Regions from separate parts of the Homo sapiens genome. Here all the other regions are linked to region 3. The links are contacts of gene promoters, found by promoter capture Hi-C in human tissues and cell types (Jung and others, 2019). All regions are on one chromosome and are shown on one strand. The core of a region is centred on a gene start or on the middle of the fragment in contact, and the rest is flanking DNA. Distances in the headings are between cores, read along the strand shown. Region 1 holds the start of SPATC1L (spermatogenesis and centriole associated 1 like). Region 2 holds the start of DIP2A (disco interacting protein 2 homolog A). Region 3 holds the start of PCBP3 (poly(rC) binding protein 3). Region 4 holds the start of LSS (lanosterol synthase).

What was found. Contacts are between HindIII fragments. The study calls those that stand out against the background at their distance.
Region 1: the fragment with the promoter of SPATC1L here is called in contact with the fragment with the promoter of PCBP3 in region 3 in 1 of the 25 tissues and cell types used here (IMR-90 fibroblasts).
Region 2: the fragment with the promoter of DIP2A here is called in contact with the fragment with the promoter of PCBP3 in region 3 in 2 of the 25 tissues and cell types used here (H1 embryonic stem cells and mesenchymal stem cells).
Region 4: a contact is called between the fragment with the promoter of LSS here and the fragment with the promoter of PCBP3 in region 3, in 2 of the 25 tissues and cell types used here (hippocampus and spleen).

What each region holds. Positions count from the first base shown.
Region 1 is chr21:46,180,210-46,185,945 of GRCh38, reverse strand. It overlaps SPATC1L (spermatogenesis and centriole associated 1 like), which reads left to right and starts at 1,487. Exons shown (of 5, transcript NM_001142854.2): 1 at 1,487-1,590; 2 at 2,172-3,322. The coding sequence starts at 3,130. It overlaps LOC124905045 (a long non-coding RNA gene), which reads right to left and starts at 1,399. Exons shown (of 2, transcript XR_007067914.1): 1 at 759-1,399. RefSeq lists enhancers at 2,218-2,821, 2,822-3,425, 5,242-5,736. The HindIII fragment of the contact is 12,071 bases long and covers 1-5,015 here.
Region 2 is chr21:46,454,753-46,460,968 of GRCh38, reverse strand. It overlaps DIP2A (disco interacting protein 2 homolog A), which reads right to left and starts at 2,078. Exons shown (of 38, transcript NM_015151.4): 1 at 1,747-2,078. The coding sequence starts at 1,837. LOC124905046 (a long non-coding RNA gene) reads left to right here and starts at 2,256. Exons shown (of 2, transcript XR_007067915.1): 1 at 2,256-2,642; 2 at 5,051-6,216. RefSeq lists enhancers at 885-954, 2,725-2,864 and silencers at 1,675-1,744, 1,935-2,484. The HindIII fragment of the contact is 5,308 bases long and covers 1-3,098 here.
Region 3 is chr21:45,638,614-45,645,073 of GRCh38, reverse strand. PCBP3 (poly(rC) binding protein 3) reads right to left here and starts at 1,349. Exons shown (of 18, transcript NM_001384156.1): 1 at 1,206-1,349. RefSeq lists silencers at 695-834, 1,155-2,144. The HindIII fragment of the contact is 13,348 bases long and covers 1-6,460 here.
Region 4 is chr21:46,226,377-46,232,531 of GRCh38, reverse strand. It overlaps LSS (lanosterol synthase), which reads left to right and starts at 3,758. Exons shown (of 22, transcript NM_002340.6): 1 at 3,758-3,800; 2 at 3,933-4,098; 3 at 4,842-4,980. The coding sequence starts at 3,787. It overlaps MCM3AP-AS1 (MCM3AP antisense RNA 1), which reads right to left and starts at 3,301. Exons shown (of 4, transcript NR_110565.1): 1 at 3,266-3,301; 2 at 2,005-2,205. RefSeq lists silencers at 2,954-3,393, 3,454-3,713, 3,724-3,893, 3,954-4,003 and enhancers at 3,423-3,717, 4,434-4,503. The HindIII fragment of the contact is 14,795 bases long and covers 1-6,155 here.

The DNA.
Region 1 (5,736 bases), core at 238-2,737, 540 kb before region 3:
CTCAAGCAATCCTCCCACCTCAGTGTTCCGAGTAGCTGGGACAACAGACACGCACCACCACATCTGCCTAATCTTCTGACTGTTTTCTACAGATGGGGTGTCCTTCTCTTTTGATAACTTTGGTAGGGTTTGTCCATTTCCTGTGGTTGTGGAGCACGGGCATCAAGCTTTAACTACACCCCACAAATTCTAATGTCATGTTTTTATTCTCATTCAACTTGAAATATTCTCTGGTTTCCTTCGTGCTTTTGTCTTTTTCAAGACTTTTTTAAGAGGAGTTTTAGGTTCTTAGCAAAATTGAGAGGAAGATAGAGAGATTTCCCCACTCGCTGCCCCAACAAATGCACAGCCTCCCCTATTATCAACAAACTACCTGACAGCCACAATTGTCAGCAAAACGCACATGAGGGAAAAATATAAAATATAAGTAGCGTTGTATCTATTTAAGAAATTGATTTAGAAATTTAAAACTTTTCCAGAAGAAATCTAGTTCTAGATAGCTTCACAGATGAATTCTATCCGACGTTTAAGAAGGAACACCCAGAAAATGGCGCAGAATCTCTGCGGCTCATTTTAAAAGGCCAGTGTTCCAAAGCCAGACCGAGACATCACAAGAAAAGGAGATTCAGATCGACTTCCCCTGTGAGCATAAAAATACTTAAAATATTAATAAATTGAATCCAGCGCTATATTAAAAGGATAATGTGTCAAGACCAGAAAACTGTCAGAATGTTGATAGGTCCGTGGCTGGAGAGTACCTGACGTCAAGAGAAGGTTTCCTTGGAGCGGGAGGAAGACGGCATTTAAAATATGATGGGAGGAGCCAGGGCAGGAAAAGCCATTCAGGGCCCCGTCGGGCTCAGAGCGGGGGGCGCATCCGTGACTCATCCCTCGCTTCTCTCTCTGCCCTGCATCCTGGACGCCCTGCATGCCCTCGTCAGTGGGCTGTGGCTGGGCCCCCGTTGTCTTGATCTGAGGTGTGAGCCCTGTGGTGCAACACCAGGCTGGTTGGGTTGTGTCAGGAACGCTTGGGGTGTAGAAACCTCCTTTCTCCACAAAGCCTGACTCAAGACTTTCTCTCCTAGAAGCAACCTTCCCCTAATCTGGCCGCCCGGGCTGAATGAAGGTGGTGTTCTCCCAGGGGCATCTGCACCTGAGTGCCCTTGGTGGTCCTGAGTGCCCGTCACAGGGCTGGAGGTGTGGCCGGCCCACTGGGATGGTGGTGGTGGTGGGTGCCCATCACAGGGCTGGAGGTGTGGCCGGCCCACTGGGTTGGTGGTGGTGGGTGCCCGTCACAGGGCTGGAGGTGTGGCCGGCCCACTGGGTTGGTGGTGGTGGGTGCCCGTCACAGGGCTGGAGGTGTGGCCGGCCCACTGGGTTGGTGGTGGTGGGTGCCCGTCACAGGGCTGGAGGTGTGGCCGGCCCACTGGGTTGGTGGTGGTGGGTGCCCGTCACAGGGCTGGAGGTGTGGCCGGCCCACTGGGTTGTGCTTTCTGCCGTACGTCCCTTCCCATGAGGATGAGATGACCCATCTGTTGCATCCCGGCTGCTGATAAAACAAGACCCTCGGAGCCAAGAAACAACACTGAGGTGATTTACTTTCCCAAGTAATTGAAGCAGGGAGTCAGGGTGGGTTTCAAGTCGGTCGCACTGACTGAGGACAGACGCCTGCTCTAGCAGGGCCCCATGAGCCGCAGCCCTGTGTGACGGCCCGAGGGGCCGTGGCCATGGGTTGGGGGCGTCCTCAGTTACGTGCAGGCAGGAGCAGTGCAGTCAGGAACAATTGGTGTCTTAGACACGGGCGCTCGTGGTCTGAGGGGTGGACATGCACTGCTGGACCCTTCTCATCAGGGAGTGAGGTCAGTAGGTGGCCTCCAGCCCAGCCCTCAGGGCCACCCAGTGCTCCAAAGCATGTGGGGGCCATCGTGGGGCTGCCTCAGGCTGGTCTCCCCACCCTAGGCTGGTCTCCCCCGCAAGACTGGTCTCCTCCCCCAGGCTGGTCTCCCCCACAAGGCTGGTCTCCTCCCCCAGGCTGGTCTCCTCACCAGGCTGGTCTCCTCCCCCAGGCTGATCTCCCCGCCCAGGCTGGTCTCCCCCGCAGGCTGGTCTCCCCCGCAAGCTGGTCTCCTCCCCCAGGCTGGTCTCCTCACCAGGCTGGTCTCCTCCCCCAGGCTGATCTCCCCGCCCAGGCTGGTCTCCCCCGCAGGCTGGTCTCCCCCGCAAGCTGGTCTCCTCCCCCAGGCTGGTCTCCTCACCAGGCTGGTCTCCTCCCCCAGGCTGATCTCCCCGCCCAGGCTGGTCTCCCCCGCAGGCTGGTCTCCCCCACAAGGCTGGTCTCCTCCCCCAGGCTGGTCTCCTCACCAGGCTGGTCTCCTCCCCCAGGCTGATCTCCCCGCCCAGGCTGGTCTCCCCCGCAGGCTGGTCTCCCCCGCAAGCTGGTCTCCCCTGCAGGCTGGTCTCCTCCCCAGGCTGGTCTCCCCCGCAGACTGGTCTCCCCCACAAGCTGGTCTCCCCACCAGGCTGGTCTCCCCCACATGCTGGTCTCCTCCCACTGCCCTTGCCAGTCCCTCCCTCCTCAAGTGTGGGTGCCAAGGACGGACCCTGATGAACACCTGCACATCAGTTGCTGCCCTGGGTGCCAGGGTCCACAGGAAGCTGCACTGGGAACCCTGTGTCCTGGGCAGGTCCTATGGGAAGTGCAGCCCACATGTTACTCGGGTGAAGGCAGCGTCCCCACCCAGCTTGAGGACACCACACAGGGTGGACACCCGACCCTGGCTGGGCCGCTCAATGGGGAGTGGCTTGGACGCCCCTCTTGGAGTACAGTCGCTACATCCCGTAGCTGCCTAATGTCCTTGGCATTCTCGGGCCCTGGTCATAATGTGGGAGTGGCTGCCTGTGCACGCCACGGGCCTCCAGCTTCACTGCCTCAACGGGGCCATGAGCCATCGCGGGGGCAGGCAGGGTGCTGGGCACCTCATCACTAGGGCAGTGACATCACAAGGCGTGGAAGGCGGTGGTGGCTACGGAACTCCGTGCCTGGGCTGTTTCTGTGGTGCCTGCGGGCTCTGGGCTCCCACCTCCATGGGGCTGCAGGAGCCGTGAGGGACAAGGAGGGACGCACCCGCCATGGCTGAAGGCGGCGAGCTGATGAGCCGGCTCCTGAGCGAGAACGCGGACCTGAAGAAGCAGGTGCGCCTCCTGAAGGAGAATCAGATGCTGCGGCGGCTGCTCAGCCAGAGCTGCCAGGAGGGCGGCGGCCACGACCTGCTCCCACCCAGGGCGCATGCCTACCCTGAGGCCGGCTCCCCCGGGAGCGGAGGTGAGGCGCCGCCCAGCTCAGATGGCCTGGTAGATGAGGGGGTCGCGGGACGCCTGCTCCCCGGGAGTCGAGGGTGGCGGCCAGCTCCCTGATGCGGGAGGTCACGGGCACCTTTCACACCCTCAGGTCTGAGTAAAGCAAGACCAGGTGGTGGGTTCTGCTGTTGCCCTCAGGTGAGGCCCCTCCCCTCCCCTTCGGTCGCTGGCGAAGTGGGAGTGGTCAACCGCTGGCAGGTGGACTGGTCAGCTGCAGTCATGGAAGTGTCCCCATAGGGGTAGAGCAGGTGGCGCGCAGGCTTGTGGGCCTCCAGGGCCCCAGGCAGCTCTTCCAGGCTGGTCCTGGCTGGCAGTTTGCTCTGCTGCATGTGTCTCTTCTCCTGGGTCAGGGGCGAGGGGGGTGTCAGACCAGCCACACGAGTCCCATGAGTGCTGTGTCCCATCCACTCATGTCCCCGGCCAGAGCCAGGCCAGCCCCATGGTGGGAAGGTCCCACCCTGGGGAGGCCTCAGAGCCACCGGCCAGGGGAGCAGGTAGGGACAAGTGGGCGCCTGTCCCTGCGGGGCTGGGAGTGTGGAGCCATGATCCACTCACCACATAGCATTGACTCCGACCTTCTGTGGCTTTTTACTGAAAAAAGTATATATATAGGGTTTGGTCACTTTCTGCAAAGTAGTAGGCTTTATTCTAAAAGGTTTGGGAAAAACATTACCCGTTCCTGCATGTGATTTGGGGTGGGGCTGACAGATGTACCCTTGACTTTTTGTTGGGATGGTGGGCAGAGGACAGAGTCCCTGACCCAGCACTGCCTGGGATTCCCACGGCCAACCTCAGCTTCCCACCGGGCCGGGCCCGGAAAGGACGTGGTCAGCCTGCCTGGTCCTGGACGATGGAGCAGGCAGCCTCGCCAGTGCCCGTGAACACTGCTGTCTGCGAGCACGAGCCATGCCCGGGAGGCCAGCTCTGCCACTCACCAAGGGGCCGCTCCAGCACCTGTGCTGGGGGTGGGGGAGGTTGCTTCCTGAGTCCTTCTCAAACGCTGGCCACCACCCTCAGATGTGCACTCTGAGCAGGCGCAGTGTGCAGGAGGCACTCTCCGCAGCCAGGCCCCAGGCCCTGCTCGGAGCTCCATGGACAAGCCTGAGAGCGAGCGTGTCTGGAAGCAAAGAGGGGAATCCATGGCATCGTCCCCACACCTTTGGTCTCTGGTGACAGGCAGGGGCTCCTCGCAGGGAGCTGGGAGGAGAGCACCTCGCCAGGATGTGCGGGGACAGTGTGGCTGGGGAACCTGGCGCCTGGGGGCCATGCTGTGCGAGGCCCCAGGTTCTGCGTCTCCATCAGCGGCCACTGAGCCCCACGCTCACCACAGGGCGTTTGCTGGGCAGACCTGCGCTTACGGTGCTGGGCCACGTGCAGGGTCCCGTTCACAGCACTTGTGAGGCCCGGGCACTGTGGCTGCAAAAGGGCCCTTAATCTGTTTGGCGTGTGTGGACCGCCGCAGGCTGCGTGCCCCGGGCTGCGTTGCTGTCCTCCTCCTCAAGAAGGAATCACCCTGGGCCGGACCTCAGGGCTGGACAGAGTGCTGGTGCCTCCCCTGGCAGGAGAGGGGCAGACCCTCAACCCTTGCCCAGGCTGTGCAGTCCCCAGAGGGACCCTTGTCAGGGGCTGAGTCCGGGCGGGGTCTCCATGACCACGGCTGCTGCCCCTGCCCTTGGGTCATCTTGGCAAACCCAGGTCTTGCTGGACACGGGTCTTGGGAGGAGCCTCAACCTGAGGCCAGCAGGCCTTCCACAGAGGGCCTTGGAGCCCCCGCCACAGGGTGTGGGGCAGGCTCAGTGTGGCCCGGGCTGGCAGCGGGGAGGGGCCTGGACAAGACCACCCTCTAAACTCTGCCACTTGAGTGGCAGCGTGTGGTGCACCCTTAATGCTCTGGGCCTCAGCATGTGCTTGGGAATGTACCTGGGGCTGTGGGACGCTGCATTCAGGACCAGCCCTCAGCAGAACTGGGGTTGGGAAGACCAGCACTGAGCTTCTGCAAAAAAGGAGAAGTTTATAAACAAAGGAACCACCACCAGCAATGTCTGCATGTTGCCAAGACTTCATTAGCATCTGTGTTCAAAACAGGATGAGTAAAAACCTGCTTTTCTTACGGATTCAACAACACGTGCTCATGGTAAACTTATAAACGCCATGGAGGGTGCAACGTTTAAGCCTCAGGCCACGCCTCCGGCCCCCTCCGCAAAGGCAGCCACAATCAACGTTCTCTTGGGTTTTCTCTGGAACTTTAGTGGAGATCTGTGTGTCTGTCTGTGTATCTTTTTGGTCCACCTACACGGGATTGTGCTGTTCCGCAACTTGACTTTTCCCCCTTAACGATCCATTTCGCGGCATTCCCCACCAGTCCTTATCTGCAGATCT
Region 2 (6,216 bases), core at 829-3,328, 820 kb before region 3:
TAATCCCAGCACTTTGGGAGGCCGAGGCAGGCGGACCACCTGAGGTCAGGAGTTTGAGACCAGCCTGGTCAACATGGTGATACCTTGCCTCTACTAAAAATACGAAAATTAGCTGGGCGTGGTGGCAAGCCCCTGTAATCCCAGCTACTCGGGAGGCTGAGGCAGAAGAATCATTTCTACCTGGGAGGCAGAGGTTGCAGTGAGCCGAGATCACGCCATTGCACTCCAGCCTGGGCAACAGAGCAAGACTCCGTCTCAAAAAAAAAAAATGTGCCACATGTCACAACATTGTTAAAAATCTGAATGCTGAATTCAAAATAGTTGCAAGTACATGTTGTATTATATGTAAAACAAGATCACAACAGCATCTACCTCCCTAAGGTTGGCAAGGATTAAATGACTTACTGTATGCTAGTGCATATTATTTAGATGTTTTGAGAAATAACTACCCCAGACCCAGCAAAATCTTATCAATCTGAAACTTAAATTAAGGATAATAAGATTATTTAAAAAATGGATTCTAAAAGCTGAAAATGCATTTAGATCTCAAAAACAGAGTAAGAATCAATTACATGCTTTTCTTCAAGGACTGCAAGTCCTTTCTGACACTGGAGAAGAACTTAACTCTTTCCCAAAGACAGCCAAAAGGAATATCAGGACACAGGCCTTGAAAGGGATAACATCCAAATGGGAAATGCCACCCACCACCTCTGAAGCCAGATTACTCCAGTCTATTTTTATCAACCAACCATTTATACGACTTTTTTTTTTTACTTTAAAAAATTCCATGAGGGGGCTAACAACTCCTAAGTGTTATGTGCTTTGCATATATTAAGGTATTTTAGCCTCATAACAATCCAAAATGGAAAGTGCTGGTATAACCCCACTTTATAGATAATAAAATGAGGCACAGGGTGCAGCTCCTAGAGTATGAGGCGCGCGGCAAGGGCTCCCAGCTCCAAGGGAAGTAGCTGCCTGCGGACAACGGGCGCAGTCATCCTGGTGAAGCCCAGACCAAGCCCAGACCTACAGCCTTGAGAAAAGCGGGGCTCACAGCTTGGGGCAAAAGTGGTCATTCCTCTCAAGATTCTCACACCTGTCCAAACGACCTAGTCAAAGCCAGTCCTTGGGGTCGGATCCCATTGGGGGAGCAGCTGGGGATAGGGAAAGGTCTCCAGAAGTTTGGCAGGCGTCCCGGGGTGAGGAGTAAGGGTCCCAGGTGTGAAGGGCCTGGGGGGAGGAGTCCTTGTATGGGGGAGGGGTCCTTGTATGAGAGGCGGGGCAGTGGTCCCTGGTTTGAGGGGCCGCGCGGGTGTCCCGGGGCTGAGGGTCGGGAGTCCGGAGGGGCAGCGCGGGGCTCCCAGGGTGAAGGGCGGGGTCCCCGGGGTGAGGGGCCGCGCGGGGTTCCGGGGGTGAGGGGCAGGAGGTCCCGGGGGTGAGGGGCGGGAGTTCCCGGGGGTAAGGGGCCGGGGTCTCGGGGCGAGGGGTCGTGCTGGGGTCCCACATGAGGGGCGGGGTCCTAGGGTTGAGGAACGGTGTCTCCGGGGCGAGGGGCGGGTTCCAGGGTAGAGGAACCGGGGTCCCGTTGAGGGGCAGAGGTCCCAGGGGCGAGGCCGCGTGGGGGTCCCGGGGGTGAAGGGCGGGGGTCCTGGAGTGAGGGGCCGCGCGGGGGTCCCGGAGTGAGGGGCTGCGCGGGGGACCGGGCTGAGGGCGGGTCGCGGGGGTTGAGGGCGGGGTCCGGCTCACCTTCCGACAGCTCCAGCTCCAGCTCAGCCAGGCTCTCCCGCACCTCGGCAGGCAGCGGCGCCGCCTCCAGCGGGCACCCGCGGTCAGCCATGGCCAGGCCGGCTAGCGTCCGGGCAGAGGCTGGAACCGGACCGGGCCTGGCGGCGGCAGCGCAAACCTCGGCTACGTAGCTCCCCTCAGGCCAACAACCTACATCCGCCAGGCGAGGAGCGGGAGGCGGCGGGACAGGGGCGCGGCCAGGACAGCAACGCACCCGCGCGGGCACGAGCGCGGATGGCTCCGCCGCGCCGCCGCTGCCCCGCGCGCTCCTGAGCGCCCGGCCGGCCCTACACGGGAGCGCGTGCGCGGCGGGAAGGGCGGGTAGCGAGCGCGCGTGCGCAGTGGGTCTCGGGCCCGCGCAGCCCTCCCGGCCCCGCCCAGCAACACCAGAGCCTCGCTTCCATTGGCCCCGAAGACGCGTCGATGCCGCTCCGGGCTCCCATTGGGAGAGGCGGGAGAGCGCCGCTCCCGACAGGCTCTGCGCTGGGCCTGCTTGAGGGTGGCGGGCTTGAGGCGGGCAGGCTGCTTAGTTGCGGCCCGAGGCGCCTAAGTGGGGATGACCAACCCGTGGGCGTTGGCGCTGACCCCTAGGCGCCGCTGGTGGCCCCGCGCGCGGCCCTCCGGCCAGCCCCGCCCCTCTCGGGGCTCCTCCTTGGTCCCCGCGCCATGGCGCGTCCGCGTTGACCGCTGTCTTCCCTTTCGGGCTGTGCTGATCGCGAACGCTGCGCAGTCCGTGGTGGCGTCGAGGCACCTTTCTCGTGCCTTTACCTGTGTTCACTCCTTTGCTTTAAAAAACAGCCCTAGAAGTACACATCGTTGGCCCCGAAGGAGCCCCAGCAGCCATGTCGGACCGCGAGGTGACCTTGGAGGGCGGGAGGACGGACGAGGGGCCTGGCGGAGCTAGACTGAGAGGGCGCCGCCGGCGTCCTGAAGGCCCTGCTCCCCGAATGTGTGGGAGTGTGTCTGACGGTGCGAGGGTGGCTGTGGCGGGGCCTGAGCAGCGTGTCCGTGTCCCGATGCCGCCCGCCTGTTACTGAGTTAGGCAGGAGTGCCCGAGTCTGGCGAACTTCAGCAGTTCTCGTTCCAGAGCTCCACACGAGGTTGGCCAAAGCTTTGCGGGACTTACATACCCTTCTTCCTCCGCCCAGTCCTGCTTCCTTCCCCTTCCTTTCACGGGTGTTGATACCATGTCAACATCCTCGTACCCCAAACTCAGTCGCAGCGTCTGCTTCTGGAGAAACCATTCTGCAGCATTAAAGCTGGTGAGAAGATGGGATTCGAGGCTGCATCACTCACCAGTGGTGAAGTAGGAGGGTGAACTAGTGAAATGGAATCCACGAGTGGGTGAAGTATCAGACATTTCATATATGGTGAACGTAGTAGATAAAAGGAAGGAAAGGGGGATTGGATAGCTATTGCTTAGTGCCAACCGAGACTCTTAAGAATAGTGGTCAGCTGAAGGCAAGCAACAAACAGTTGTAAGCCAGTGAATCTGTCCCGTTACATATAGAGAAGCTTCATTTACTGCAGCAGGTCAAAGACAAGAACCAGGCCCAGGAATTAACATCCCTGTTTGACTGAACTCCAAAAATAGCAAAACACCCAAACAAGGCAATACTCTTCCACTAAGTTTGGATCCCTGCTAAGAAAAGATGAGGCTGGGCACAGTGGCTCACACCTGTAATCCCAGCACTTTGGGAGGCCAAGGCGGGAAGATTGCTTGAGTTCAGGAGTTCAAGACCAGCTTGGGCAACATGACAAAACCCCATCTCTACTGAAAACACAAAAAATTAGCCGGGCATGGTGGCCACGGCTGTGGTCCCAGCTGCTTGGGAGGCTAAGGTGGGTGGATCACCTGAGCCCTGGAAGTCAGGGCTGTAGTGAGCTGTGACTGCACTCCAGCCTGGGCAACAGGAGTGAGACTCTGTCTTTTAAAAAAAAAAAAGAAAGAAAAGAAAAGCCCGTCATACATGGGTTGGAGATACCTGGGTAGATGCCTTCAAAGGTTTTGACTCCCCAAACTGCCTTAAACCTTTTTTTCGTAGACAGTGTCTCACTCTGTTGCCCAGGCTGGAGTGCAGTTGCTGGATCATGGCCCACTGTAGCCTCAACTTCCTGGGCTCAAACGATCCTCCCACCTGAGCCTCCTAAGTAACTGGGACTACAGGTATGTGTCACCACACCTGGATACATTTTTTATTACTTGTAGAGGCAAGGTCTTGCTATGTTGCCCGGGCTTGTCTCAAACTTCTAGGCTCCAGTGAGCCATCACACCTGGCCTGCCTTGAACCTGAAGCCTGCCGGGGTGGCTCACCTCTCCTATTAACCTGACACTACTCCTCCTCCCTCCACTTACTGCTCAGTAGATGTATAATTATGGTTGTTTCTTTTGCATTATTCAGCTGGAAACAATGAGATAGAAAAGAGAATATAGCTCCCTCCCCCTCAGAAGAACTGCGTTATTAGTTTGCTGGGGCTTCAGTAACAAACTGGGCAGACATTTATTGTCTCCCAGTTCTGGAGGCTAGAAGTCTGAGATCAAAGTTTTCACAGGGTTGGTTCCTTCTGGGGCTGGGAGGGAGAATCTGTCTCATGCCTCTCTCCCAGCTTCTGGTGGTTTGCTGGCAGTCTTTGGTTCCTTGGCTTATAGAGGCATTGTCCCAGTCCTGCCTTTATATTCACATGGTGATCTTGTTGTGTGTGTCTCTCCAGACGAAGGCATAAGTAACATCATTGACAAAGGTCATTCGACATGGGCCTCTTTTTAGAAGGACACCAGTCATACTGATTAGGGCCCACTCTAATGAGCGCATCTTAACTTGTCTACAAAGACCCATTTCCAAATAATGTCACATTCACATTGACCAGGGGTTAGGGCTTCAGCATCTTTTGAGAGGGACACACTTCAGCCCATAACAAGCTGTACCACCCAGCCAACATGTACTGACAGGAGCTGGGAAAGTTTGGGGCTGGATTATGAGGGTGCTTGATGAAGGGAGCTGGAATGTAAACTTGCATAGATGTGTTTATTGAAATACGTGATTTAACACCTTGGCAAAGAGTGGCTGCAGACTTCCTGCAAGGATGGCTCCTAGAATGGCGGTATAGCTACTGCTGCCTAACAAATTACTCCACACTTCGTGGCTTAAAACAAGAATCATTTCTTATCTCTAGGTTACTGTGGGTCAGACATAGTGGGGATCGGTGATCTCTCTAGGTTACTGTGGGTCAGACATAGTGGGGATTGGTTATCTCTCTTCCACAGTGTCTGAGGCCTCAGCTGGAGCAGTTCAGAGGCTAGAGGTTGGAATGAGTGAAGGTTCATCTGCTCGAATGTCTGACAGCTGATACTGGAGATTGGCTGCAGCCCAGATTGGGGATGTCAGCCAGCACACCCCTACACGGCCGGTCCCTGTGGCCGAGGCTTTCTCACAATATGATGGCTGGATTCCAAGGGCAATCTAAAGACAAAGGACAAAAGAAAGCTGTATCCTTTTTGTGAACCAGCCTCAGAAGTTGCATACCATCACTTCGGCTACTTCCTATTTGGAAGAAATGAGTCACTAAATTACCCATATTCAAAAGGAGAGGAATTAGGCTTCATCTTCTAAAGGGAAGAATATCAAAAAATTTGCCAGTATATTTTTAAAACACCACACTTGGAAAAAGCCATGGGCCATGGTAAGCAAAATTGAAATGGCAAAATTGCTATGGCAGACAGTGGTGGAAGGGAGTAAAAGGTTCAGGGGTGTGGGCATGTTGAAATTTATATACTCCGTGCATCTAGAAGACATTTGAGACGATCATATTCCACATGAAGGTGTAAATAACACGTCATTTATAAAGATCATTAGACATAGGATGATGAAAGGGGCACTGATGTCACTAAAATATTCAGTGATGGCTCATCTCTGTAGGCAAGAATGACAATAGAAAGGCTGTTCCAGAACTTGGCTGGGTGATAGCACTGGGGATGATAGGATCCTAAGACAAAAGAGGCCATTCTGGGACATAGTGGGGACCAAAGAAAAAAACCCAAGAAGCCAAAGGCAACACTTAGCTGGCAGAAGTCAGAGGATTGCAATTATAGCAGCCAGCAGGGTCTGAGTGGCAGCCAAGGGGACCTCACTTGTATGGTTATAGAACTGGTCAATAAACATGGCATCCCTGGAGGCAAAACAGGTGGGCAGCTAAGAAGGGTACTACTCAGCTGGCAAAAAAAAAAAAAAAAAAAAAAATCCATCCAGGCACGGTGGCCTGTGCCTGTAATCTCAGCATTTGGGGAAGCTAAGGTGGGAGGATCACTTGAGCCCAGGAGTTCAAGATTACAGTGAGCTGTGGTTGCACCACTGCACTCCAGCCCGGGCAATGTGGCAAGACTGTCTCAATTGAAAAAAATAAATAAAGATGCTTGTCCCAGTTTTAAAAAAT
Region 3 (6,460 bases), core at 100-2,599:
AGTGCCACTGTTCTACAAACACTCCTTTTGGGGCCAAAATAGGTATCTCTGACACGCTTTAAGATGATGAATTATTCTTGAATATGAGGAGGACTGGGAGTTAGTTCTCTTAAATAGGGAAGCACCCTTGCACACTCCTTTGGGATCCACATCTGAGAAAGTCCAAAGAAAAGAAAAAGGGCAACAGTTTGCCCCTGAAAGTGAGTTCAATTTCAGAGGGATATGTGAGGGCCTGTGCCAGAGGAATATTTTTGAAATGGGGGGAGTCTATAAGTTGCCCAGTCTAATCTCTAAAGGCCTCTCCGCAAGGCCCTGCTGCTCAAGATTCCTTCTGGCGAATCCCACTCTACAAACACTCAACAACTAAGAGTGCTACTGGCTCACATGGAGGGCTAACAAGACCTGCAAATCCAGGCTGCTCTGAAGGACGGTGGAAGATAACCAACCCCGAGCCACGAGATTTAGGACCCGACTTTTGGTTAACTTTCAAATTTCTTATGCCAGTAATATACTTCAGAGTGGCGCGGAGGGAATTGGAAAACATCACCAGGCAAAAAAAAGAAAAAAACTCTTTCACGAAACAAGACTTCCAATTAGAACACGTGTGGGGACAATAAGAAACACGTTCTAACCACCCCCAAAATTAAAATAAAACACAGCGAGCAACAAGAGAGACCTGCGCGCGCCCCACCGCCCGCGCGCGGCTCTCCGCAGGGTCACCGAGGGGTGAGGCCGCGCTCTCCCGGCGGCCGTCCAGGGGGAGGAGGCCCCGCGCCCCGCCCCGCCGCCCTCCAGCCGCCGCGGCCGCTCCGGGGTGTTCCCCAGATCTCTTCTCAATCAAGAGATGAAATTTGTGCCGTTTTGAAACTGAAGCCTCAAGTAGTCCAGACGTTTTCTGACCCACATCCGAGACGTTCTCGGCTTCCCGCCGCAACTTCCGAATTTGGGGAGGGGGCGGAGGCGGGCGGGCCAGGCCTGGCGACCGCACCTTGAGGGAGCGCGAGTCCCCTCGCTGCCCCGGGCCGCCGCAGGCGCCGGCGGCGGTCGGGGACGGCGCGACCCAGCCCGGGACCCCCGCCCGCCCCGGCTCGGGCGAAGTTTGCCGCGGCCCGGGGTCGCCCCGTCACTCGGCCTCCGTCGGGGACTGGGTCCCCGTAACCCGCAAGGGCGCCCGACCCCGACCCCGCCCGCCACCGCTCACTCACCTGCCCTGCGCCGGACGGCGAGCCCGCGGGCCGGCGGGGAGAGGCCGGGAGGCCCGGGCGGGGTCGGGGCGAGGCGGGTGAGGAGGCGGCGGCGGAGCCTAAGTCAGCCGAAGCGGCGGCGACCGCGGCTGAGGCGGCTGAGGCGGCGGTCGCGGCTTCAGGCGCTCCAGCCCGAGCGCTGCGCGCGGCGCGGGCCCGCCCCTCTGCGCCGCTAACCAATCTAGCGCCGCGCGCCGCCGCCGGCCCCGCCCCCGCCCAAGGGCAGGCTCGCGAAAGCGGGCGCCGCGGGCCAATGAAAGGGCGGAACATCAACCGGCGCGGCCAATCCGAGCCCGGAAAGTTCTCTGGAAAAAGCCAACTCCAGTCAAAGGGGCGGGGGTGGGGCTGGGGGCGGGGCGGGGACCTGGCCCAATGACGCGCGGGGCGGGGCCGAGCATTGGGCGGGGAGGAGGCGGGGCCTCGAACGGGCGGGCCGGTCACTAGTAGTGGGCGGGGTCGTAGGCGGGACATTGAGCGGGCGGGGCAAGAATCGGGGCGGGGGCCTAATGAAGTGAAGCGGGGAGGGGACGGGCAGTGGGAGGGGCAGGTCACATTTGGGGTGGGGTGGGGGCGGGGCAGGGGCGGGGCTGAGTACGGGAGGCCAGGCCGGGGAGAGGCCTAAGTCGGGGCGGGCGGGAGAAGGGCAAGAGCAGTGGGCGGGGCTCGGGGGTTAGGGGATTAGTGCCCTTGCTGGGGCGGGGCCCAGGCTTGGGGCGGGCCTGTGGTGGGCAGGGCCGTGGATGGGCGGGGCGAGCCTTCGTGGGCGGGCCAGGCCTGTGGTGGGCGGGGCGGGCCGTTGGTGAGCGAGACCTTGGTGGACGGGGCGGATCCGCGGTGGGCGGGGATTTGGCGGGCGGGCGGGTGGGCCCGACGGGACGGGAATGGCCGTTGAATTCCCAGCCGTGCCGCAACCCCGAAGGTCCCCCTGCAGCGCCCGCTTCCCGTTCTCTGTGGGCCTGGCCCCGGCCCGGAGGCTGGGGCCGCAGCGCCCGGCGGGCAGGGGCCCCGAGCGGCTCGTGAGCCTGTGCCCAGACGCTGCCCGCCCCGCGCTGGTCCCGCCGCCCTGTCCCCTCCGCCCGCCCGGCGTTCGCGTGCCGTGGCCTGGGGCGGGGCGTTGCTGGGCCCCGGGGGCTGCAGGGGGAGGCCGCCCTTTCTCTGGGCTGGCTCCGGGCTGTTCCGCTCCGCGCCGTTTTCCCGGTACTTCCCGCGGAGCCCGCCTCGCTGTGCGTCCCCGCCCGGGCGTTTCTTCCGCGGCGCTGAGCGCCCGCCCCGGCCTCGGGCAAGGGCAGCCGGACGCCCCGAGGACCAGGGCGCTGGGGCCGAGGCGCGTCCTCCGCAGTCGCCGCGCCTGGGCCCCGTTTCCCCGCGGGTCCTCGCCGGGGTGGGAGGCGCCTCTTGGCGTCCGTGGGGAGCTGGGTGTGGGGGGCGGCAGGGCAGGAGGTGGGGGGGCTGAGCCGGAGAAACGTCCTCGCCCCGCCCGAGACCTCAGACACCCCAGAACCTCGGGCCGGCAGCCAGCTGCAGGAATCGCGCCCTAAAGCCTGGGGTCCGCGCCCGCCCGCCTCCCGCGAGCGCCAGGGGCTGCCGGGTCACCGGGATGCAGCCTCGAGGCGACGTCACAGACCCCACGCGGCCCCCCGAGCACCCCCGGAGCCGGCGCGGGGACAGGGGTTCGGGATGGACGGAACCCACGCAGGGAACGTTCCGGGCCGTCTACGCCAGGCTCAGGGCGGCCGTCAGCTGGGGTTGGAGGTGGGTCAGGAAGAGATGTGTCCTTTTGTCTCCAAATGTCGCTTGTGTCATTAAAAGACAACCTTAAAATAGAAGAAAAAAAAAAAAAAAAAGCCTGGGCTGGCGTGAGGAGGGGCCGTCCGCGAGCTACGGAGGCTGAGTCGGCGGGGAAGGGAATGTGGAGTGGGGCGGGGGGGGCGCTTGGCGAACCCGTGCTTTGGACGCGCTTGGCGGTTTCGGGGAGAATGAGAATGGAGGGGAGGGAGGCCAAGGCCTGCAGCCTGGTGGGAATGCTGGGAAGGACGCTGTGGACAGGACCTTACTGGAAATGAACCAGAAGGGAAGGTGGGCCGGGCGCGGTGGCTCGCCCCTTAATCCCAACGCTTTGGGAGGCCGAGGCAGAAGGATCGCTTGAGCCCAGGCGTTGGAGACCCGCATGGGAAACATCGTGAGACTCTGTTTTTAGAAAAGGAGGAGGAGAAGGGATACTGGGCGGCCTCTGCCACACCTGGACTCTGCGGGCAGGGGGCCAGAGGGACCCAGGGCTGCTGTGCTGGAGCTGGAGCTGGCGCGAGGGTCTGGGCAGAGCACTGTCAGCGCCCCCAGATTACAGGCTGCCAGCCTCCCCCGGTCCTCTGCGGGAGCCTGCGGCCTCAGCTGCCTGCCCCGCCGGCTGAAAGACACAGTTAGTCATTAGGAAAGTAATGATAGTGTTTTCAGGGCAGCGTGTTAGACCCTAAAGACTTTCTATTATTTGCAGTTCCTGCCAACCCTGTGAAGAAAAAAAGCAGCTCATCTCTCACGCCCCGCCTCTTGACACACGCTGATCCGGCCTGGTTCTGGGTTTTCCCGGAGCCTGCAGGGCAGCCCCGCCCCAGGCGGCAGCAGCTGGGCCTGCAGCGTGTCCCTCATGGTGCCCGGCCTCCAGGTCCAGAGTTTCCTGCCTCCCTGAGCTCGGGGTGCGCTGTCTCCACCCTCTCATGGCCGTCAGGGTGCTGGTCCCGTCAGAAGTGCACCCAGGGGCTCGCATTTATAAATAACTCCAGGGTGTCTTGCTGTGGGTTTGGAAATCGGGAAGGCAGGTTATCATCTGCTTGGAATGATGTCAGATCCAGCCCCAGGAAGTCTCCCAGCACCCGGCCTTCCTGCTTGTCATGGGCTGGGACATCTGGAGGGGTAGGGGCGAGGGCCTTCTGTAGCTCCACATTAGCTGGCTAAAGTGTGGGGAAAACAGTAACACACAGAAAGCAATCATAATAGTAATTAACGTCAAAACCTTGCAAGATGTTTAGGCCTCCCAGGAGCCCTGGAGAAGCCCAGCCCTTCCACATAACACCAGCACTCCCAGCGGCAGGGCCTCCATCCCCCTGCTGGGGAGGGAGATCCGGAGTCTGGGTGGAGTGTGTGGTCTCTGGCCTTCAGCAGGACTACACTCCAGGCTGAGCCTTTCCTCAGGCAGAATTCATACCCTTACCTCAGCCTACAACCCCAGCACACATGTTACCTAGGGGCAAATTAGTACTTTGCCCTCATGTCCTCTTCACAAAGCACTGGGGTAGAAGTCCTTCTTCCAGGGACCAGCAGCACCCAGCCCCTGCTTCCCCAGGCTCCTGCCCTGCACAGGGACCGCTGCCACTGCCCACCAAAAGCTGCTGGGGGGTGTTGGGGCTGGCTCAGCTGAGCTCACACAGGATCCTCTGATGGCCAAAGTGCTGGAGTGGAAATCAGAGACCAAGAAGCCAATCCCTGTGCCAGCTGCCCTGGTTAGGGAAATACAGAAACTAAAAATAGTTCCCACTTCCGCTTCCTCCTTTTTATATCAGCCTCATCATAAGTGCACCTGACCTAACTTACCTGGTGCTGTGGTGTTTGTACTTGGATTAGGTGAAGCAGCTCAGGGGTCCCCTCATGCCCTCTCCCCTGTCCCCCTGCTGAAGAGGCAGCTCCCACATGCGGCACTGCCTGACTGGCCCCTGGCCTGGGCCTGGGACCCTGCAGAGAGACAGCAAGCCATGGCCAGAAGGCTTGCAAGGTGCCCCCAGCTTGGGTGATGGTGACACCCAGAACAGGGCACTTCCTGGAAATGTGATCTGGAAGGGCAGTGGGCATGAGTGGAGCATGGAAAGAGACACCCAGGACGGACGGAGAGAGGCATCTGGTGTAGGTGGGGCTGCAGCCACCTCTCCTCTTCGGGGCTGGCAAGGTAACCCTTGCCCTGTGCCCCACAGCTGCCCTGATTTCCGGGTGTCTCCCAGAAGCACACTCTGCACTGCTTCTGCATCCCGGCCACTCCTTCAGTGTCCAGCCCCCTTCCCCAGCATAGAATGAACACAGAGAGGATGGGGAGTGCCTGCTCTGCCGACATGAGGGGCTGGCAGTGACATCTGTCCCTGTCATAGGCACAAAAAGTTATCAATGTTGGTAAGCTGGATTCAAGCCATGCACGGAAGCAGATGGCTCTGCCCCAAAGGGTAAAACATCCTGGAAGTGAATTGGATGGAGTCTCACATAGAGCAGCCCATCGGCTTCTCTGGCAGTGTGCCCTGGTTTTAGCAGAAAATAATCACAGGGTCTCTAATATCTGGCTGTGGAGAAGCACCCAGAACTCCCCCAGTTGCCCTCATGATCCCTAATGGACGAGGGATGGGTCCTGTGTCCTCTCAGCTCTTCACGCTAAGAAGCAAATGAATCCTTGGCCTGCCCCTCAGACTGGCATCTCCACAACTGGGATAGACATCTCAGGCCCTGGGGTCCATGAGTCACTGCTGACAGAGAGAGAGAGAAAGAGAGAGACAGAGACAGAGAGGGAGGAAAGAGCTCCTGCTGCCACCCTGGCGCCCTCAGGTGCCTCTCAGCCCTGGGGAGCAGTCCTCCTCTGCTCTGGGCCCCTCCCCCACTGCACACAGAGCACTCCCCCCTTGTCTTTTTTATATGTAAGTTTTCTTATATTTTGCATAAAGAAGAAATGCACACACCTCACACATGCACCAGAAACGTCACGGGTCATCCAGACCTTCCTTTTATTTTGGGAAGACTTTCAGCTCAGAGGTAGCCAGAATTCCGCCCCTTCTCTGTGTGCCTCAACGGGCACCATTAAGACTCTAAAATTAGAACAACTCTTTGTTTTGGTGCCGAGCCACCACGTCACTCCCACCCTCCCTCCAACCTCTGCTGGGTTCTCAGGAAGAGACTGGAGGGGGAAATGCAAAGCTTCCAAATCCCACAAAGAAAGCCCACCAGCTGCTGGGCAGACCAGCACAGGTGGGGCGTGCTGCAGATGCCCTTGCTTTGCCTACCGACAAGTAACACCTTAAGACTGACTTTATATCCATTTGCTGCTTTTTTATTAGGGCCACCTGAAACCTCTCTGTTGACATGAGTAATCCTCTGTAATATCTGTAGAGTGTAGAGATGGATTTAAACATGTGGAGCTGTTCAGCAGAGTATTCCCGTAAGAGAAAGAGAGTGGTGGGACAGGCTTGGCC
Region 4 (6,155 bases), core at 2,509-5,008, 590 kb before region 3:
AGTCCTTTTTTCTAGTTTTTTTGTTGCTATTGAACAAATTACCCCAAATATAGTAGCTTAAATTTGAGGAGGATTCAGCTGGGCAGCTTTCTGTTGGGATCTCTCATGCAGCTGCAGTCAGGTATTGGCTGAGGTTATAGTCATCTGAAGGCTTGACTGGGTCAGTGGTCCAAGATGGATCACTTGCATGGCTGGAGGTAATGTTGCACTGTTTTCCCCAAATGTCTGGCTCATGCTGATGATGGTGCTTGTTGGAAACTGTCAATGGGTACAGTCTGCCAGCTAATAGGTTTGTTTTTCTACTAGGTCATAGTTGCCAGTGTTTGCAGGACTCTTGTGGGCCAGCTGCTCCAGAGGGATCCTCCCACTATCTCATGCTATCTGGCTAAGTGGGAGAAGTGAGCCTGGACCCACATGTGTAGACTTTAACTCAATCTGTCTGCTTTCAGTGGTCCTCAGCTATGCCTCATGCCTGAGGTAACACCTACTCTGATTCAACTACTGGAGACTTCCTCCACCCAAGTAGGAGAGGGGATCTATGGTCATACTGTTCCTCACAAAAATTTTCCACCAGTTATTCCAATTTCTGCACCTTCCTGGTATTTGCTGGCAGGAATGGTCTCTTGTTGGCTTCACCCACAAACGTAAGTCTCAACTTTCTCTAGCTAACTCAGTTATCACTTCTCCATCCATTCCCAGTCTCTATAATTTTGTTGACTTCTCTTGCTTACTAGTGTCTCCTCTCCCATTCTTTGTGGGGTTTTTTTGGTCTTTTATTACTTTATGTGAGTAGGGTTTGGGCAGGAAATGGAGGTTAATGTTTATGCTCAGTCTGCCATGTTTAACTGAAAATTTCTTTCAAAATTCTGCCATTAGGCTTTTCCCCCCATGTCTCTTTAGATAGCTCTTGTCAGTCACCAATACATTGTTTTGTTGCATCCAATAATAAATTCTGTCTTCATTTTGCAATCCCTTCAAAGCCTCAGCAAAGATCACCATGTCTTCACTTATATTATGACTTCATATTCCTCTGGTTTTCCTCCTCTCTCTGGCCATTCCTCTATACTGGAAAAGGTCGGTGCCCCAGGGCTCATTCTAGAACTTCTCTTTTTTATGTGCATTTCCTAATTCATCTTGTCCAATCTCATGATTTCAAATACTACCTGAAAGCAAATGACTCCCAAATTCCTATCTCTAGCATTATGTTCTCTCCTGAATGCCAGCCTACTCAATATTTCACTTGAATGTCTAATAAGCATCTCTAGTATAACTTGTCCCCACTTTAATCTGAATTTTCCAATCAAACTTTCCCTATTTTAGGCCAGGTGTGGTGGCTCATGCCTATAATCCCAACACTTTGGGAGGCTGAAGTGGGAGGATTCCTTGTGGCCAGGAGTTTGAGACCATCCTGGGCAACATAGCGAGACCCCGTGTCTCTACCAAACTTTAAAAAAATCAGCCAGGTGTGGTGGCACACGCCTGTAGTCCCAGCTATTCAGGAGGCTGAGCCCGGAAGATCACTTAGCCCTGGAATTTGAGGCTGCAGTGAGCTAATGATTGTGCCACTGCATTCCCACCTGGGTGACAGACTGAGATCCTGTCACTAAATAAATAAAAGACACCTCTATTTTAGTAAATGACCACCACCATATACCCAGTTGTTGAGGCCAAAATCCTCAGAGCCTTCTGTATCTGGCTTAATGAATAAGCTGGATGCAGTAGTATGTAAGCAGATAGGAACAGTGTTTTTTCTCATGACTGCCCCTAGAAGCTTAACTGTGTCAATTCTCAGACGTAGTTTACAGCTTTTTCTTTTCTTTCAGACATTAAAAAGAGCGGATTATTTTACTCATAAAAAGTCCAGTCCATTAAGATATCAAAACTCAAACTCTTATCCAGTTGAAACCTCTTCCCTCACCTAGCTTTGCCAGGTTCAGTGTGAGATTCCATCCAGGCTGAAGCCCCTTATCCCTATTCTTCATGTTTCTACATGGAGGAACTTACCTGGAGAAAAACTTCCAGCCTCTTTCTGCTTCCAGAGAAGTAGAGTGACTCATTTGATTGAATTTCAGAGAACAGATAGGGTGGAGTGTGCTCAGGCTCCTCTGGGTACTCTTTCTGGGGTCTGTGGGTTGACTGGAGGGGTGTCTTCTGGTGGGCACTCAATTGCATAGTGCTTGGTGAGGCAGTTTCATGGCCTAGAGGCTGGGGGATATGTTTGTCTGACTTAACGGGTGATTTAGTAGCTTGCCCTCTTGCTTGCAGATTTAAGCCTTGTCCTTCAAGCTAGGTTTTTAATTTGTGGCAAAGCTGATATTTTGATACCCACCCATCTTATTGCTGTGTCTTTTTCATCCGTTTCTGAACTGGGATAGGAAGAGGTGATTATCCTTGATTGTCTAAAACCCCGCTATTCCACTGTGGGGAAGGTGCCTGTGGGTATTCTTTTGTCCACTCTCTCTTCCAACTTTCTCCTCCGGCTTGCTGTGGCTCACCGCCCCTTCGAAGTTAGGCTGGGGGTAGGAATTGAGGAGTGGGTGCCGAAATGCTCACTAGGCTGGGGCAGTTGTAACTGGATGTCAGGGCTTCTGTGGGCCAGGTGAAGACATGCTGGGGTCTTCTGTGGGTCCTTGACCTGACTTACGGACCACTGGCTGCAGCCTCCAGACGTCAGCCATGTTTCCAACAGTCAGACGCCCCCTGCCCTGTTGCGCCCGGCTGTCCCTTCCAAGTTCGGTCACTCGCTCTGCCTCCATCTTCCTCTTCCCTCTGCTGCTAAGGCTTTTCACCTTTAATTTCTCCTGGGGCCACCCCCAACTCCAGCGACCCCGTGAGCAGCTGAGGCTCTACCGCGCTCGGTCCTGGCCAGCGACGCAGCCCTTCCCTGGCGGGGCTCCAGGGCTTCTGGCCCCTGTGGTCCGCCAGGTGTGGGGGCCCACGGCCTCACCGCGCCTACCCCACTCCCCCCGGCGAAGCTACGCGGCGCTCAGCTTCCCAGGGACGCCGGCGGCGCCCTCGGCTCCTCCGCTCCGCCCCGCCCTCCCCCTGGTCTCGCACTGGAGCCGACGGCCCGCGCCCACCTCACCTCAGGGCGGCCTCCCGCCCCCACCCCCGGCCCCGGCGTCCGGGCAAATCCTGCAGCGCGAGAGCAATTCCCTGCCACCCGACCTTCGCACTCGCTGTCGCTCGCTCGAGCCTCGCTCCCCACGTCCTTCCTTCCGACCCGCGGCTGGACCCTCCTCACAAATTTCTCAGAGAGGCTCACCTCAAAGCGCGGCGCACGAGGCCGGGCTCCCGGGACGCAAGCCTCTAGAGGGCGCGCGAGAGGCCCCGCCCCCGCCCTTCGGCCCCACCCACCAGCCCCGCCCCCACCCGCACCCACCAGGCCCCGCCCCCACCTCCCCACCCACCAGCCCCGCCCCCACCTCCCCACCCACCAGCCCCGCCCCTCATGCCCCGCCAATAAGGCCCCACCCGCCTCCCCCGTCCCGTCGCCTTCACCCACCATCCCCGCTCCCTCAGGCCCCGCCCCACGCCGCATGGGGCACCAAGCGCTCCACCACTGTGGTCGCCTGGCACACCCCGGGGTCACGCTCGCGGCGCTCTGATTGGTTGCGTGGGCGTCGGCCCACCTAAGCCTGAGCGCCTGCCGAGGCCTGCGCCTGCGTAGTGCGCGCGGGAGGGGCGGGAGGGGCGGGAGGGGCGGGAGGGGCGGGGCTGGGCGGCAGGTCCCGGGTGCGGACATCTGGCAGCTGGCAGTGGGCGGCGTAGAGCACTGCAGCAGCAATGACGGAGGGCACGTGAGTCCCCTCGCCCCGGGCTCCTGACGAATGCGGGGTGGTCCTAGGTGCTGAGGAGAGCGCGACTGGGGCAGTGGGCCGGCGGCCGGCGTTGGGGCGGGGCCTGGGTCGCTGATGGCCGGTGGTCCTCAGGTGTCTGCGGCGCCGAGGGGGCCCCTACAAGACCGAGCCCGCCACCGACCTCGGCCGCTGGCGACTCAACTGCGAGAGGGGCCGGCAGACGTGGACCTACCTGCAGGACGAGCGCGCCGGCCGCGAGCAGACCGGCCTGGAAGCCTACGCCCTGGGGCTGGACACCGTAAGTTGCTTCCGCGGAGCGTCAGCGAGCTCGGGACCCTGAGGGGTGAGCCGTGAGGAGCACGTTTTCTCTCAGAAAGGCGGGTGGGAGGACCCGGCCAGCGACGCCCATCCCCAAGGCGAGCGCCCACGGGAACTGCGTTCGCGGGCCCCTCCGCTTCAGCCCCTTCATCTCTAAACCACGCATAGGAGACTCCTAATGTTTTATTTTTTAGCACCTTATTTTGAGATAATTTTTGACTTATAGGAGAGTTGCAAAGATAGTTGTAACTTTGTTTTTATTCACAAAAAGTGTTTGGATCCACTGTCTTAGTTGTGTGCATTGTAAGAGATTTTGGTCGTCAGAGTCTGCAGTGTAAACAGGGTCTCCTGCCGAGCCCCGGCCACCGAGGGAAAGGCTGTGCCGCCCCTTGGGCCCTCTTTGAGAGGCCCGAGTCCCAGGCCCAGGTCGGCACCCGTGCCCCACCCTACAGTCTGGGTGCCTGGTTTATTCCAGACATCTTGGAGAAGTTGTGAAGAATACATGACTGGCAAATAAAGCAACGAAAATGTGCAGCTGTTCTTTTACTTTGCTGAGGTGTGATGCTCTCATCAAAGAGTTTCAGACTTTTGATGGAAACAGCTGAAACTTTTAAAGTAATTTACATTCACTGTTTTGACTTGGGCTGTATGTGAAGAGGGTTCCTCTGGCCGGGCAACAGTCCCGTCAGCTATCTCTTTTTTTTTTTTTCGATCTCTTTGCAGAAGAATTACTTTAAGGACTTGCCCAAAGCCCACACCGCCTTTGAGGGGGCTCTGAACGGGATGACATTTTACGTGGGGCTGCAGGCTGAGGATGGGCACTGGACGGGTGATTATGGTGGCCCACTTTTCCTCCTGCCAGGTAGGAGTATGCTGCCCCAGCCTGATGGTATGGCCACCCTGGATCACCCTTGGGATCCTGGCCCAGCCTGGTCTAGGGTTTTGATGAAGCAGGTGAAAATCCAGGGGCTCACAAGAAAAGGGCTGGCAAACTCTGCCCTATGTCAGAGTCGTCCTGCTATTGGTCTAGGGGATCAGCTAGCCTTGCCAGTGTAGGGTGACAGGCTCTCTGATAAGAGAAGCAAGTGGTTCTCTAGGGCTCTGTGTTGCCTTGAGGGAGGAGGAAGGTGGGCTTTGAAGTCTCAGTACAGGATGGGATGGACATTCCAGGTGGAAGGCCCAGCCTATGCCAAGGGGCTGTAGGTGGGCAGAGTGGTGGGTGGGGAGCTGATATCTGCTGTGAACTTCCTCGGGGCTATTGCAGGAGAGCTTCAGGTTCAGGCTGGTGAGTAGGAGGAGCATAGCAGTTGGACTGCCTGGGTATTGAACTGATTTGGCTACACAAGACTATTTTGCATCCTGGGAGTGTTTCTCTACAGAAATCCTCAGCCTTGTAAAATGGGAAATTCCCTCCTATGAATTTATGCAATAGGACTTTTTTCCCTAGTGACTTGTAATCACATTGTTTCAATGACGTGAATTCCTACATAAATAGGTTTTGTTTCTGTGATAACTCTTACTGATACATCATTTTCTTTTACTACGCTGACTTTGTAATAGATAGAAAGTCCTTATATACCTTTGTTGCCTTTCTTTTTAAAACATCTCTTACCTGTGTCTATTCATTTACTCATCCAAATTGCCTTTATCCTGATTTTGTCCCAGACTTGAAATGAAGTTGCAATAGGCTTATATGTTAGTTTGGGAAGAGTTGGCCTTTAACGTTAAAAACAGTTCCATGGTGTTTACTGTAGGCCAAGCCCTGCTCAAGGCCTGTTCTTCTTTTAGTCCTTAGAATAAGCCTAATGAGATACATTAGAAAGCTGAGGCACATTTATTCCAGGTAACCAGACTAGCAGGAGGAGCACTGGGATCCCCATCTCTGCTTTGACTTCTAGCCCTGCTGCCACCTGGACTGTACAGCATTGAGTTTTTCTGTCCTGGGATTTGAGGGCCTGTCCTTAGGGGAAGTCAAGGTGCTCTTCTTCCCTTGGCCCCATCAGGGCCTGTTTAGACTGTTCTCAGGGCTCGTGGTAA